Regions from separate parts of the Homo sapiens genome. Here region 2 is linked to region 1. The links are contacts of gene promoters, found by promoter capture Hi-C in human tissues and cell types (Jung and others, 2019). All regions are on one chromosome and are shown on one strand. Each heading gives the region's core, a stretch centred on a gene start or on the middle of the fragment in contact. The rest is flanking DNA. Distances are from core to core; before and after follow the strand shown. Region 1 holds the start of C2orf80 (chromosome 2 open reading frame 80). Region 2 has its middle 10 kb from the start of CRYGD.

Region 1 (6,453 bases), core at 1,434-3,933:
CTTCAAGGACTGAAGCTGGGAAGGTGACTATTGGGATCGATGAACACTTGGCTGAGTTGGACCAGCTGCAGCAGCCTCAGCTGGGGGCAGGGGTAAGGGAGTTAACAGGGATGAACAAGCCTAGCAAGGTCAAGGTTGAAGTTCTCCAAGGTTGCCTTTGGGTGAAAAGCTCTCTTGATCAAGAAATTGTGGAACACCTTATAATGAGGTATCAACAATAGGGAGTCAAAAAGAAAAATAACTCAGTTTATTTTCTGTTTTTTTGGTTTGTTTGTTTGTTTGTTTGTTTGTTTGTTTGTTTTTGAGACAGGGCCTCACTCTTTCACCCAGGCTGGAGTGGAGGGGTGTAATCACAGCTTACTACAGCCTCAGCCTCCTGGGTTCAAGCAATCCCCCCACCTCAGCCTGCTGAGTAGCTTGGACTGTAGGGACACACCACAATGCCCAGCTAGTTTTTATCATTTTTTGTAGAGACAGGATTTTGCCATGTTGCTCAGTCTGATCTTGAACTCTTAGGCTCAGGCAATCTACCCACCTCAGCTTCCTAAAGTGCTGGGATGACAGGCATGAGCTACCACACCCAGCCTACAGTTTAGTTTTAATTATAAACAAAATATTAGAATAAATTGAAAATGGCTGGGCGTGGTGGCTTATGCCTGTCATCCCAGCACTTTGGGAGGCCAAGGCAGATGGATCATTTGAGCCCAGGAGTTTGAGACCAGCCAGGGCAACATAGTGAGACCTCATTGCTACAAAAAAAAAAATTAATTAAAAAATAAAAAATTGTCTGGGTGCGGTGGCTCACGCCTGTAATCCCAGCACTTTGGGAGGCCGAGGCGGGCAGATCACCTGAGGTCGGGAGTTCAAGACCAGCCTCATCAACATGGAGAAACCCTGTCTCTACTAAAAATACAAAGTTAGCCGGGCGTGGTGGCGCATGCCTGTAATCCCAGCTACTCCAGAGGCTGAGGCAGGAGAATCGCTTGAATCCGGGAGGCGGAGGTTGTGGTGAGCCAAGATCACACCATTGCACTCCAGCCTGGGCAACAAGAGCAAAACTCCATCTCAAAAAAATGAATAAATAAATAAATAAATAAAAGTAAACAGTCATAGTAGAGGAGAGACTGAATTATTTTTTAATTCTCTCTATAGAAAATACTATGAAACCTTGGTCCTATTAACAGATAATCAAAGAGTATGTAAGAAAAAAAGGAATTTTAGTGTATGTTAGGCAGTTAGTAATCATGAAAATATTAATACTGATTTTTTGTTTGTGGTATTTTTCAGCTCTTTAAAATTTGTAACTTGTAATTAATAGTTCTAAATAAACATACAATTTTGTATTAGTTTCATATTTACAATTCTGCATTCTTTTTATTAAAGACGGTCCCCATAATGTATAAACTTCAGGCTCACCAAACCCGGAAGTGTCTAGGTACAATATAAACTCAATATGGAGTGAACAACTAGTTTAGAAAATTCTATATCTAGGGTTTTGTTAGTGTCTTTCATAATATGACCTCAGGTAATCAAGTGACTTACTTGGCCAGTGGAAAGGAGTGGAAATAAAGATTAAGAGGTGTCAATAACAGACACCCAGCCGTAGATGGGCCAGAAGAACAAACTCTGCCCCTAGTCTAGTGGTATAGAGGAGACACAGACAGAAACCATTAACAAGCTTTAAGCAAGGGAGCAAGTGTTTAAGACTAGGAGGCAGGCGTGTGGGCAGGGATTGTCAGGCCTCTGAGCCCAAGCCAAGCCATCACATCCCCTGTGACTTGCACATATACATCCAGATGGCCTAAAGTAACTGAAGATCCACAAAAGAAGTAAAAATAGTCTTAAGTGATGACATTCCACCATTGTGATTTGTTTCTTCCCCACCCTAACTGATCAATGTGCTTTGTAATCTCCCCCCGCTTAAGCAGGTACTTTGTAATCTCCCCCACCTTTAAGAAGGTTCTTTGTAATTCTCCCCACCCTTGAGCATGTAGTTTGTGAGATCCACCCCCTGCCCACAAAACATTGCTCCTAACTCCACCGCCTATCCCAAAACCTATAAGAACTAATGATAATCCACCACCCTTTGCTGACTCTCTTTTCGGACTCAGCCCGCCTGCACCCAGTTGAAATAAACAGCCATGTTGCTCACACAAAGCCTGTTTGGTGGTCTCTTCACACAGACGCACATGAAAGGGATCTCATCTATAATTAGAAAGATGGTGCTAGCTTGAACCCAGGTGATGTTTCTTCAGGATTGCCACTGTTTTGTATTGACATTCATCGAGTAGAATGATCTTTGGGTCATTGGGTACTTTGGGGCACCCTAACTATGTAGGAGCCAGAGTTTCACTAGCTTCCCCAGCAATCCTTGCTTAGTCAATTGATTCCTATGTCTGCAGCCAAATGCTATAAAAAACTCTGGGGAAGGTAAACTCCTCCCATCCTCTTGGTTTTTCAATTAATCATTTAGATGGGAAACATAAGCCTACTCAGGTAAAAAGACACGTGAACTTCAGGCCAGGATCACAATCCTGTCCCAAATATATGACTTTCCACCCTCCCTCAACCCTTAATGGGGGTGGGCGTAGGGGAGTGTATTTTTAAAACAAATGATTTTAATTCATTCACTGTTTCCTAGCAACCAGGAAAAAGCATGTGTTCCTGATGTCTGTGAGCACCAGTCTGAGATGCGCGGATGCTTCAGCATGCCTCCAGAAGCAGAGAAAGAACAAAAGCACTGGAACCGGTCTCCGGTTGGTGAGCGATTCTCAAAGGGGAATTTGTTAAGAGCAGGCACTTAATAGAACAGCCCGAGAGACCTGTACCACGATTGCAGGTGTGCAGCAGGGAACCTGCATGGAATGTGCAGATATTCTCCAGGAAATGATATTCCTATAGAATTTGGGGGCTCTGACTTCTAGGGAATTGTTTCTATGAAACAGCTAAAGCCTGAGACAGCTGACATCTTTCCAGTACCTCTTTTGTGTGTGCTTTCAGCCACACACAAAACACACAGCGGTCTTGTTTTCTTTAGAGCTCTATAGACAGAGAAGAGGGATAACTGGCAGAATTCAAATCTAGCTGAATTAGAATCCATGCAAATGGCCTTCTTTAGACCAGGCGTAGCTACTAAATGCATATAAATCACTGACTTCCACAGCTGTAAGGGACCTCTCCAATCATTCAACGCTTGTTTTACAGAGGAAGAAATGAAAAAACATAGGCAAATTAATTTGTTCAAGGTGCACAGCTAGTTGGTGGCCTCACAGGGTCTTCTGACCTACAGTTTAGTGGTTTGGGAGTGGGACATACTCATATTTTAAAGACTGAAACCTTTGCATATTATACCATATTGAATGGTGGTGGTGGGGGCAGGGGATGGGGAGGATGAGGGATGATCTAAGACGAAGCTGTCATAACAACGAAGCAATGCAAATATTATAACTTGTAAATCTGAAACTCAAAGGGCTTTCTCAGAATTACAAGACAAGAATGGATTAAAGCACATGCTAACTGTGCCTTACTCCCTGCCAAGGAATTGAGATAGGCCAAATAGTCTAGCAACAAATGTTTTTCCAAACTATTGAATCAGAAGAATTTTAATGCATGCCAGACTTTATAGAGTTACAGAATGTTAGGGTAAGAAGTGCTCTTGGCAATGTTAACCAGGCCCATCTTTTTCGGATAACACCTGAGGCTGGGAAGCAGAAGACGCACAGCCACATCAATGAGTGTGGCTTTCCTGGGTCCAGTGCTCTCTCTTCTCTAGGCAATAGGGCCACCTCTATGGCTTGCTGCATCCTCTCCCCATTGACTCTGTAGGGAGCAATATTATTGTCTTGATACTTAATCAATTTCCTGTGAAATGCTCTTACTTTCTTCCCCACTTTCATCTTATCCACATCCCGTCCACTCCCCAAAAACTAAAGCAGATGTAGCAGCAGCAAGAATGATCCAAAATGGCTGGGCACGGTGGCTCACGCCTGTAATCCCAGCACTTTGGGAGGCTGAGGCAGGTGGATTACAAGGTCAGGAGATGGAGACCATCCTGGCCAATATGATGACACCACCCGGTCTCTACTAAAAGTACAAAACAATTAGCTGGGCTTGGTGGCGTGCACCTGTAGTCCCAGCTACTTGGGAGGCTGAGGCAGGAGAATCACTTGAACCCAGGAGGCAGAGGTTGCAGTGAACCGAAATTGTGCCACTGCACTCCAGCCTGGTGACAGACCGAGACTCCGTCTCAAAAAAAAAAAAAAAATCCAAAATAATGAAGGTGGCCTAGGGAAGCATTCATTTAGATCAGCGCCATCCTGTTGGCTCTCTGCTTACTGTTGGTAGAGCTGAATCAAGTGAAGCTTAGTGTTTATATGGTACCATTTTCAAAAAACCGTTTCTAAAGTTTGTTTTCCAATCATCTTTAGAGTAGTGATTTAAATATACGTACAATTTTAAAAGTACAAAGGGTAGTATAATGAACATCCATGGACTTAGAATTCCAGAGTCAACAACTATTAACATTTTGTTATATTTGAGTATTAGGGTTCCTCAGAGAAATTGAACTGACAGGATGTGTGTGGATACACACACACACACACACACACACACACACACACACACACACGGTGCAGTATAGGCTTAACCATCTCTTTCAAATATTTTGATTTTACAGAATTGGCTCACATGATTGTGGAGTCTTGGCCAGTCCAAAATCTGATAGAGGAGGCCAGCTGCCAGCAGACTCAGGGAAGAGTTGCAGTTTGAATCCAAAGGCTGCCTACTGGCAGATTCCTTCTTGCATGGGGGAGGTCAGTCTTTTGTTCTATCAAGGCTTTCGACTGATTGGAAAAGGCTCACTCAGATAGAGGGCAATCTGCTTTCAAAGTCCACTGATTTAAATGATAATCTCATTAAAAAAAAAACACCAGAAACATCCGGGATAAAGTTTGAACAACTATTTGATCATAGAGGCCCAACCATAAAATAAATTTAAAAATAAATAAAACATCACAAATAGAGTTGATACCCTATTTATACCTCTCCCTGTGTACCCCATTCAATAGTGATGATTTTCTATAGACTCCTTTTTGGTGACTTCAGACTCCTTTTGACCCCATCACCTGATCTTCAATTTCTGGTTCAATGTGGGGGTGGGAATTGAAGACATATTTCCCATAACCATATTTTCTTTCAAGGATCTCCTGGCAATAGGAGAGTGTAGATGGATTCTATGGAAAACTCCATTATGAGCCACTGAGCCAGGGTGAACTCACTGGGAGTTGAATGCTCACAGAAAAACCCAAACACATTCAGATCTAGATGGATCACATCCATCTAGTTTGGATGGTTCTGCCCGAATAGTCTCATCAGCTATTACACAAACCATTTTGGTTTTACTTGCTAGATTATTGCAAGGAAGAGTAAATTAAGTAAATAAGTGTTGGAAAAATTTGGAAGGAATAAAAGGTGTCAAATAAACACAAAAGTACAGTGCATGAGCCTCCAGGTGGCTTTTTGACCCTGAACCTGCCGAGTAAGAGGCCTGAATGAGGTGCTCCCTCAGATCCCTTCCAGAGCCTAGGACTCCATGACTGGTATTTGGAGTGATAGCATCCCTAACTCATATTCTCTCTGATTTGCTGCTGTAGCCTCTAGACTCAGAGAAGCTGGGTCTAAGTGTAGTGTTAGCTGCAGATACCTGCTCAGCTGGCTAAGCCTTTAACATGGAAAGAAGGCTCATAAAGAAGGAAATGAAAAAGCTCTTGTAAGTATGACTGAGAATAACTTTCATTTATGACACTTGGCATTCGGTGGATTTCATGTCATAGATGGCTTGGGTATTGGCAGTGGGTAAAAATCTAAGAATCTATTTCTGCATGGTAGGAGAAAACCAGAGGATGATCTGGCCTCTCTCGGTTTCCTGCCAGGGAGGCCTCACCTGTGGTGCGAGGCAGGATGCTGAAACACTTGGGAGGATGTTTCTGCTGGCAGCCTGCACATCCGAGGCATCCACATTCTAGAGCCTGAGAGCTGAGCCTATGTCCCAGTCAGCCTGTGTAGGCAAGATACACCGTTGAAAGGGGCTGGCCCTGCTGGTAAAAGGTATAAGAGAGATTCCTGAAAGGGCCCAGAATCTAAATTGCAGCCTCTGCTCTGCCTCTTTTATTGTCAGCCTTATCAACTAAGAAATTCATCTCCTTTTTCTTTACATCTGAACATTTTTAAAACGAACACAGAAAACATCAAGTTTCCTGTGAAAGAAATGTTTTCCTCCCATGGCAGTGTTTCTTTGACTTGTACTTAACAAATGTTGGTGAAAGATCACAAACCATATAAAAAGAAAAAAGAAAGATTATGTTCTATGTCATATGTGTTATAGACAAAACAGTAATAGCCTTTTCATCAAAGAGCTTATCACCATCCCCATCAAATATCTTTTCTCGGCCTCCT
Region 2 (6,453 bases), core at 1,225-3,724, 75 kb after region 1:
GGCGTGGCGCCGGGCTGTCTGCCTGTGGATTTCATTTCTGCCTTTTAGTTTTTACTTATTCTTTCTTTGGGGGCAGAAATTGGGCATAGGACAATATGAGGGGTGGTCTCGTCCCTTATTTCCCCGCTTTGAGAACCTCACTCATTAGTGGCAGTGTCACTTTTATTTTCATTACCTGTGTCTTCTTGCAAGACAGATCGATAGTGATTCATATAGTACACTTGTGCTGAAGCATTTTGGTGAACTAAGGTAGTGATGAAGCTTTTTATCATTTGAAGAAGTACAGGTAACAAACAAGGGAGCAGTAAGCACGTTCCTATTACTATCACAACTCCTATTATAAGAGTTTCAAATTCTCCTAGTGCCGAGAACCATTTTTCAAACATGGCCCCAGGATCAAATCCATGCCACACTTGCACAGGCACATGTGCCAGTTTTGTCATATCTCTATGTCTTCAACTACCTTCCCTTGATCATCTGTGTGTACACAGCAATTAGTAAGGTAAATTTCCCACAGACCCCTCCTTTAGCTGCTAGCAAGTAGTCGAGAGCCAATCTATTTTGATAGACAGCATTTCTCATCCGAGTTTCTTGCCAGGCCACAATAGTCAAGGCTCTGTCAGTCTTATTAATGATTATTTCTAAGACAGCTTGTAACCGTATGATTCAATTGAGCATGTAAATGGGGGTCTGGTATCCCCACGAGCTGTCTTGTGCCCAAGTAGCAGTTATGTTCAGCTGGGCTCTCTGATACCAGGAGCAAGGTGGTGGGGTTTAGGGTGTTGCAAACTTCAATGGTTATGTGGGGATTTTCACATAGGAAGCTTTGGCACTTGGTTAATCTAGCATTTGCTAGCCAATGATGTCCTTTGGTATTCATCAAAGTTACCACAGCATGGAGGGGCCTTTATATTCAGGTTTTGCCCAAGAGTTAGTTTATCTGCTTCTTGTGCTAACAGGGCCGTTGCTGCCAGGGCCCTTAGACATGGGGGCCAGCCTTTGGAAACCCTGTCCAGTTGTTTTGAGAGATAGGCCACTGACCTTGGCCAGGGCCCCACAGTCTGGGTTAAAACTCCAACTGCCATTTTTTCTCTTTCTGTCACATAGAGTGTAAAGGGTTTTGCCAGTTCAGGTAGCCCCAGGGCTGGGGCCAACATGAGTTTTTTCTTTTAACTCATGAAAAGCTCATTGCTGTTGGTTGTAATAGATGTAGTTTATCCAATCTACATTTTTATTAACCGTCACCCACCAAAATATTGACTCAAATCCTGCAGCTATTTGATTTTAAGCTTTAAATTGATCTGGTATTCCCCGTGGGACTTCAATTGCTTCTAAATAGACGTGAGAGTCGAAAGACCCATAAGGGGCTTTTCTCGCTTTACAATGTCTTATTTTTCCTCCCTCTGGTTGACAAAATCCCAGGGCGAAAGGCAAGCCAATTGGACTGAAGTACAAGTGCCACTCCAGTTATTCGGCCACAATACCACCACACATCCGCTCGGGGATGAACGAGGGCTGACTGATTGATAAGCTCTTGAAAATTCTTAAGCTCACTGCATCCCTTCAGGTCTCCAAGGAACTCTAAGTTTCCTCCCTGTTGTGAGAGTCATGAAGTGAACTTAGTGTTGGGAGACGGAAACTGGATGGCCCTTGGGGGCTGACCTGCAGGGTGCTGGACTTTGGGATATAGCAGAGAGAGCTTGGCACAACTTATTACTCCAGGCTGTAGAATCCTGGAAAAGAGCTACCATGCAGTCCACGCCTGGGCGACTGGAGGACCACCTTAGTGGAAAGGGGACAATCTGGGCCTCTGACCTGCCCTGCGCACAAGCATAACAATTGCTTTTGTTTAACGTGCTGATGGAATATTTGATCCATTCCAACCAGGTATTTGCATCTTGGTATCCTGTCTTAATTGACAAAGTTTGTTTTAAGTCTTTAACTTTTATGATCCTCTAGTAAAATGAACATATGATTTTAGGAAATTACAAAAACCGGTCGGGGCAGTCCATCCTTGCTCTTTAGTGGTCCACAGAATGTTGGACAAACTGCGGCATAAAAGCTCTACATTGAGGGGCAAGACTCCTGGTTGACACTGGAGTCTTTAATCAAAATTTCCCCAGATTAAATGGTCCTAATTTACTAATGCCCAGTCTGAGGAGAGTCAGGAGGGACAGAGGTACTTTTCTGAAGTAGAGAGCTGTCTTTGACTTGGCAAGTCCCCACAGGGTATACCCACAGGGTATAACAAGGAAAGCATTAAATGCAATAGTTTGAGGTGAAATTGACTTGGTTATGGTAATAACTAGATGGTCAGTAATAGAGCGAGAAAAGAAGAAAGAGTAATAGAATAGATGAAAAAGTTAAATTTTTCTTAGCTTAGTTTGGTAGGGTTTTCCCCTGGGACTATGGCCCACGACTCTGGAGAGGGTGGCACTTTCTTGACTCGGTTGTGATGAGTCCATCCTTTTTTCGCTGTACGAACAGAAGTCTCGGTGGTTAGCAGCACAAGGGTCCTTCGTAGGCTGGTTCGAGTTTCCTTTTTTTTCACCCTTTGATGAGAACGTGATCTTCAGGCTGGTGCTGGTTTACCAGAAATTCTAGGGGTGGTACATGTGCTAAAAGACTTTTAGTTTTGAGGGAAACTCTGTATTCATTAAACCATAACTCCCCAATCCTACCTCCCCCAATCCCTGGTAACTGCCATTCCACTTCCTGTCTTTACGAAACTGACTATTCTAGGTACCTCAAATAAACGGAATCATACAATATTTGTTCCTCTGTGTCTGATTTATTTCCCTTCACATGTTTTCAAGGTTCTTCCATATGTGCCATGTGTCAGCATTCCTTATTAGGAATAAGGAATAAGGAACTTCCAACTTTGTTTTTTGCAAGACTAATTTGTTGATTTGGGGTCCCTTGAGATTCCAGATGAATTTTAGGATAGATTTTTCTCTTTCTGCATAAGGAAATCATTGAGATTTGATAGGGATTGCACTAAATCTGCAGATTGCTTTGAGTAGTACTGATGTATTAACAATATTGTCTTCCAATCCATTAACATAGGATGTGTTTCCACTTATTTATGTCTTCTTTAATTTCTTTCAATATTTTGTAATTTTCAGAGTATAATATACTTGTTTTTTTTTTTAACTTGACATATGGTAAGCATTTTCCATACCCTTAAATAAATTCTTTGACAACATGATTTTTGGTAGCTGCATAGCATCTCATCAAACAAGTGTTCCATGATTTATTTAAACAATGCCCTATTCTGGACATTTTATTTGTATCTAATTTTCTATATTATAAACACCATTCTGATAAAATATCACTGTTCATAATCTTTGTATGCATCTTTAATTTTTTCCATTGGACAAATTCCTAGAGATGGAAATATTAGATCACAGGTGTGAGAATTAGGAGTTTTTAAATATACATCAACAGTGCTACTTTTTATACAAAACTACGGCTTAAAATCTTTTCTCCTTTCTACTGCTTTATAGTTTCTAAATTTTCCACAAAAGTTATAATTTTTAAAAGAGAAATATGTAAATGAGGCTTATTAAACTTACGTGGATCACATAAAATTTGTCCAGAGAAAGCTATTTTTTAGTATTAGACTTAGGTAGCAAGAATCCAAACTAAGGAGTGAGACTGGGTGCACCAAAGTTATTCTAAATCAGTGGTTCTTAGTGCGGATGGGGAGTGGATTTGCTTTCCAGGGAACCTTTGGCAATGTCTGCAGACAGTTCTGCTTGTCACGACCGGACAGTAATGCTACCGGTACCCAGATGGTAGAGGCCAGGATGCTGCTCAATGTCCTGCAATGCACAGGACAGCCTCCCCACCCAGCAGATAATTTTTTGGGCCCCAAATGTCAAAAGAGTGCTGCGGTTGAGAAACCTTGCTCTAAAGAGAGTGGAACACCAGGAGGGACAGGGTCCCGGCAAAAGGAAGGAAGACCCCAGTCCCTGGAGTCAGAGCCTTAACTAGAGAGCCACGAGGGTTTTGCCCCAGGGTGAAGAAGGCAGAATCTTTGCAAGATTGCAGGATCTTCAATGTGTTATATTTGCATGTTAACTTGCATTTGTCAGCAGCTAGAACCAACTAAGCTTAGCCTTTAGTTAGCAAAGTTGTTAAATAGAAAGTTACCAGTGTAATAACCGCCAAAGTGTCACTTCATGAATCCCACAGTTGAGAGTTTCATTGCCTGTGCTGAGGCAGGCACGGTGCTGAAGCTGAAGACTTCCCTGCTTCCACCCAGGCTCCAGGGATCAGAGCTGAGGCCAGGTGCCTAAATAGGGCTTCCCCAGGCCCAACCCCTGGCGTCCAACCTCCTGCATTAGTTATCTGATACCCTGCTTATCAGCAGGTAGGATCATAGAGAGGTTCTCTTAAAGGAGAATCACATCCTACTGTAAACAGCCCGAGGAGAAGGCAAGTTCATCCTCACGTTTCACATTTCACACCAATCTAAACAATACAGCCTCATGCTGTAGTCTATTTCGACCTTAGACTTGGTCGCTATTCTGCTTTGTTGCTCAAACTGAACTTTTAAAAGGTAAATAAAACATTTAATTACAATTACTAACTCTTAAGCACTTGCTCAATTCCAATTTCCCAAATAGGCTTTATGTAAAGGCCCAAATGGCACTAAGTGACAGTTTTAACCAGATCATCAATTCGAAAGCTTTAGAGAGTCTAAAAGAAAACATACAATAAACCTCCCACCCCCTCCCCTACAGTCATTATATGGAACAGAGAGAGAGAGAAAAAAAAATGCCCTTGCTCCCCTCCGGGGGCCCCTTTTGTGCGGTTCTTGCCAACACAGCAGCCCTCCTGCTATATAGCCCCGCCGCGCTGCCGCCCCACCCGCTCAGCCCCGCCGTGCGCCCAGCCAGCCATGGGGAAGGTGAGCCCAGCCCGTGCCCCCCGGTAGCTCCCTGCATGGCGGGGGCCGGAGACTGGGGCAGGGGCAGGCCTGTGAGACCTCGCCTTGCCTCGCCTTGCCTTGCAGATCACCCTCTACGAGGACCGGGGCTTCCAGGGCCGCCACTACGAATGCAGCAGCGACCACCCCAACCTGCAGCCCTACTTGAGCCGCTGCAACTCGGTGCGCGTGGACAGCGGCTGCTGGGTGCTCTATGAGCAGCCCAACTACTCGGGCCTCCAGTAGTTCCTGCGCCGCGGCGACTATGCCGACCACCAGCAGTGGATGGGCCTCAGCGACTCGGTCCGCTCCTGCCGCCTCATCCCCCACGTGAGTGCAGTCCCACCCGGGCCCTTCCGTGCCCTCGAGTCGCATCAGTGATCCACGTGGATGATTCACACGACAGGCGATGGGATGCGATGGCAGGCTTCTTTTTTCTGGCTCTAACTATATTCTCTTTTCCTTTATTAACATGCGTAAGGTTTCCTCCCACTGAAAAAGTATGTGATGCAGTGCTTTTAACTGGTCATTTTATTTTATTTTGCTAAAGTCAAATTCACCTCTACTGGGAATAAGTTGTGCGTGGCATTAGCTCAGAGCGTCTATGCCACAGGTGATGAAACAGCAACAGATTAATTCCTTGCTCTCAGGTGGCCATAGGCTAGGTGGCTATTTCTTTTACGTCATCTGTAAAAAGGGCTGATGAGAGTAGTTCCTTTATAGGGTTCCAATGAGGGTAAAAGGAGGGTGCCTGGCACATGCCAATCCCCAACCCCGAGTATTAACTATTATTATGAACATCAAGGGTCTCTCAAGTCCTGCCTTCTGATTGGGCAAACCAGTAACCAACAATGAGATTCCAATAGCTCCTGCAGGGCCCACTGTTACCTAAATGAAGCCCCAGCAGCCTGAAATTTCACAGTTAGGGATTCCCTAAGTTGACTGTGACAGAGTCCCGGGAAAATGAACCACTTTTGTGAAGTCTGAAATCCCCTCACAGGGTTTAATAGCTGGATAAGGACCCAGTCTGGCATTGGAGCCCAAAAACTTAGATTTCTAATTTCAAGTACCAACTCTTCTAATTACAGACTGTAAGATCCACTTCACTAGCAGTCACTCAAACCTCAAAAAGAATTGCTCATGAGAATCTTCCCTAAAGAAGATACATACATATATATATATGTATATATGTGTGTGTATATATGTATATATATATATAGAGAGAGAGAGAGAGAGAGAGAAAGTCTCAAAGTCAGATTTGAGAAGGAAATGACATTACTGATCAGCTCTTAACCGAGACAGAAAAAATGTCATTAGAAGGCTCAGAAGGGGATCTAGAACCTGAGCTCCAAGCAGAAAAGATTTTTTTTCTTTTTTTGAGATGGAGTCTCGCTCTGTCGTCCAGGTTGGAGTACAGTGGCGTGATCTCGGCTCACTGCAACCTCCACCTCCCGAGTTCAGGCAATTCTCCTTTCTCAGCCTCCAGAGTAGCTGAGATTACAGGCACACGCCACCACACC

Evidence for each region. Contacts are between HindIII fragments. The study calls those that stand out against the background at their distance.
Region 2: a contact is called between a fragment that was not itself captured here and the fragment with the promoter of C2orf80 in region 1, in 3 of the 25 tissues and cell types used here (bladder, mesendoderm cells and sigmoid colon).

What each region holds. Positions count from the first base shown.
Region 1 is chr2:208,186,260-208,192,712 of GRCh38, reverse strand. It overlaps C2orf80 (chromosome 2 open reading frame 80), which reads left to right and starts at 2,683. Exons shown (of 9, transcript NM_001099334.3): 1 at 2,683-2,760; 2 at 5,652-5,767. The coding sequence starts at 5,727. The HindIII fragment of the contact is 5,855 bases long and covers 1-5,651 here.
Region 2 is chr2:208,111,076-208,117,528 of GRCh38, reverse strand. It overlaps the pseudogene CRYGEP. Among named protein-coding and RNA genes, the nearest start is that of CRYGD, 10 kb to the left of the region's middle. RefSeq lists an enhancer at 5,299-6,039. The HindIII fragment of the contact is 3,861 bases long and covers 544-4,404 here.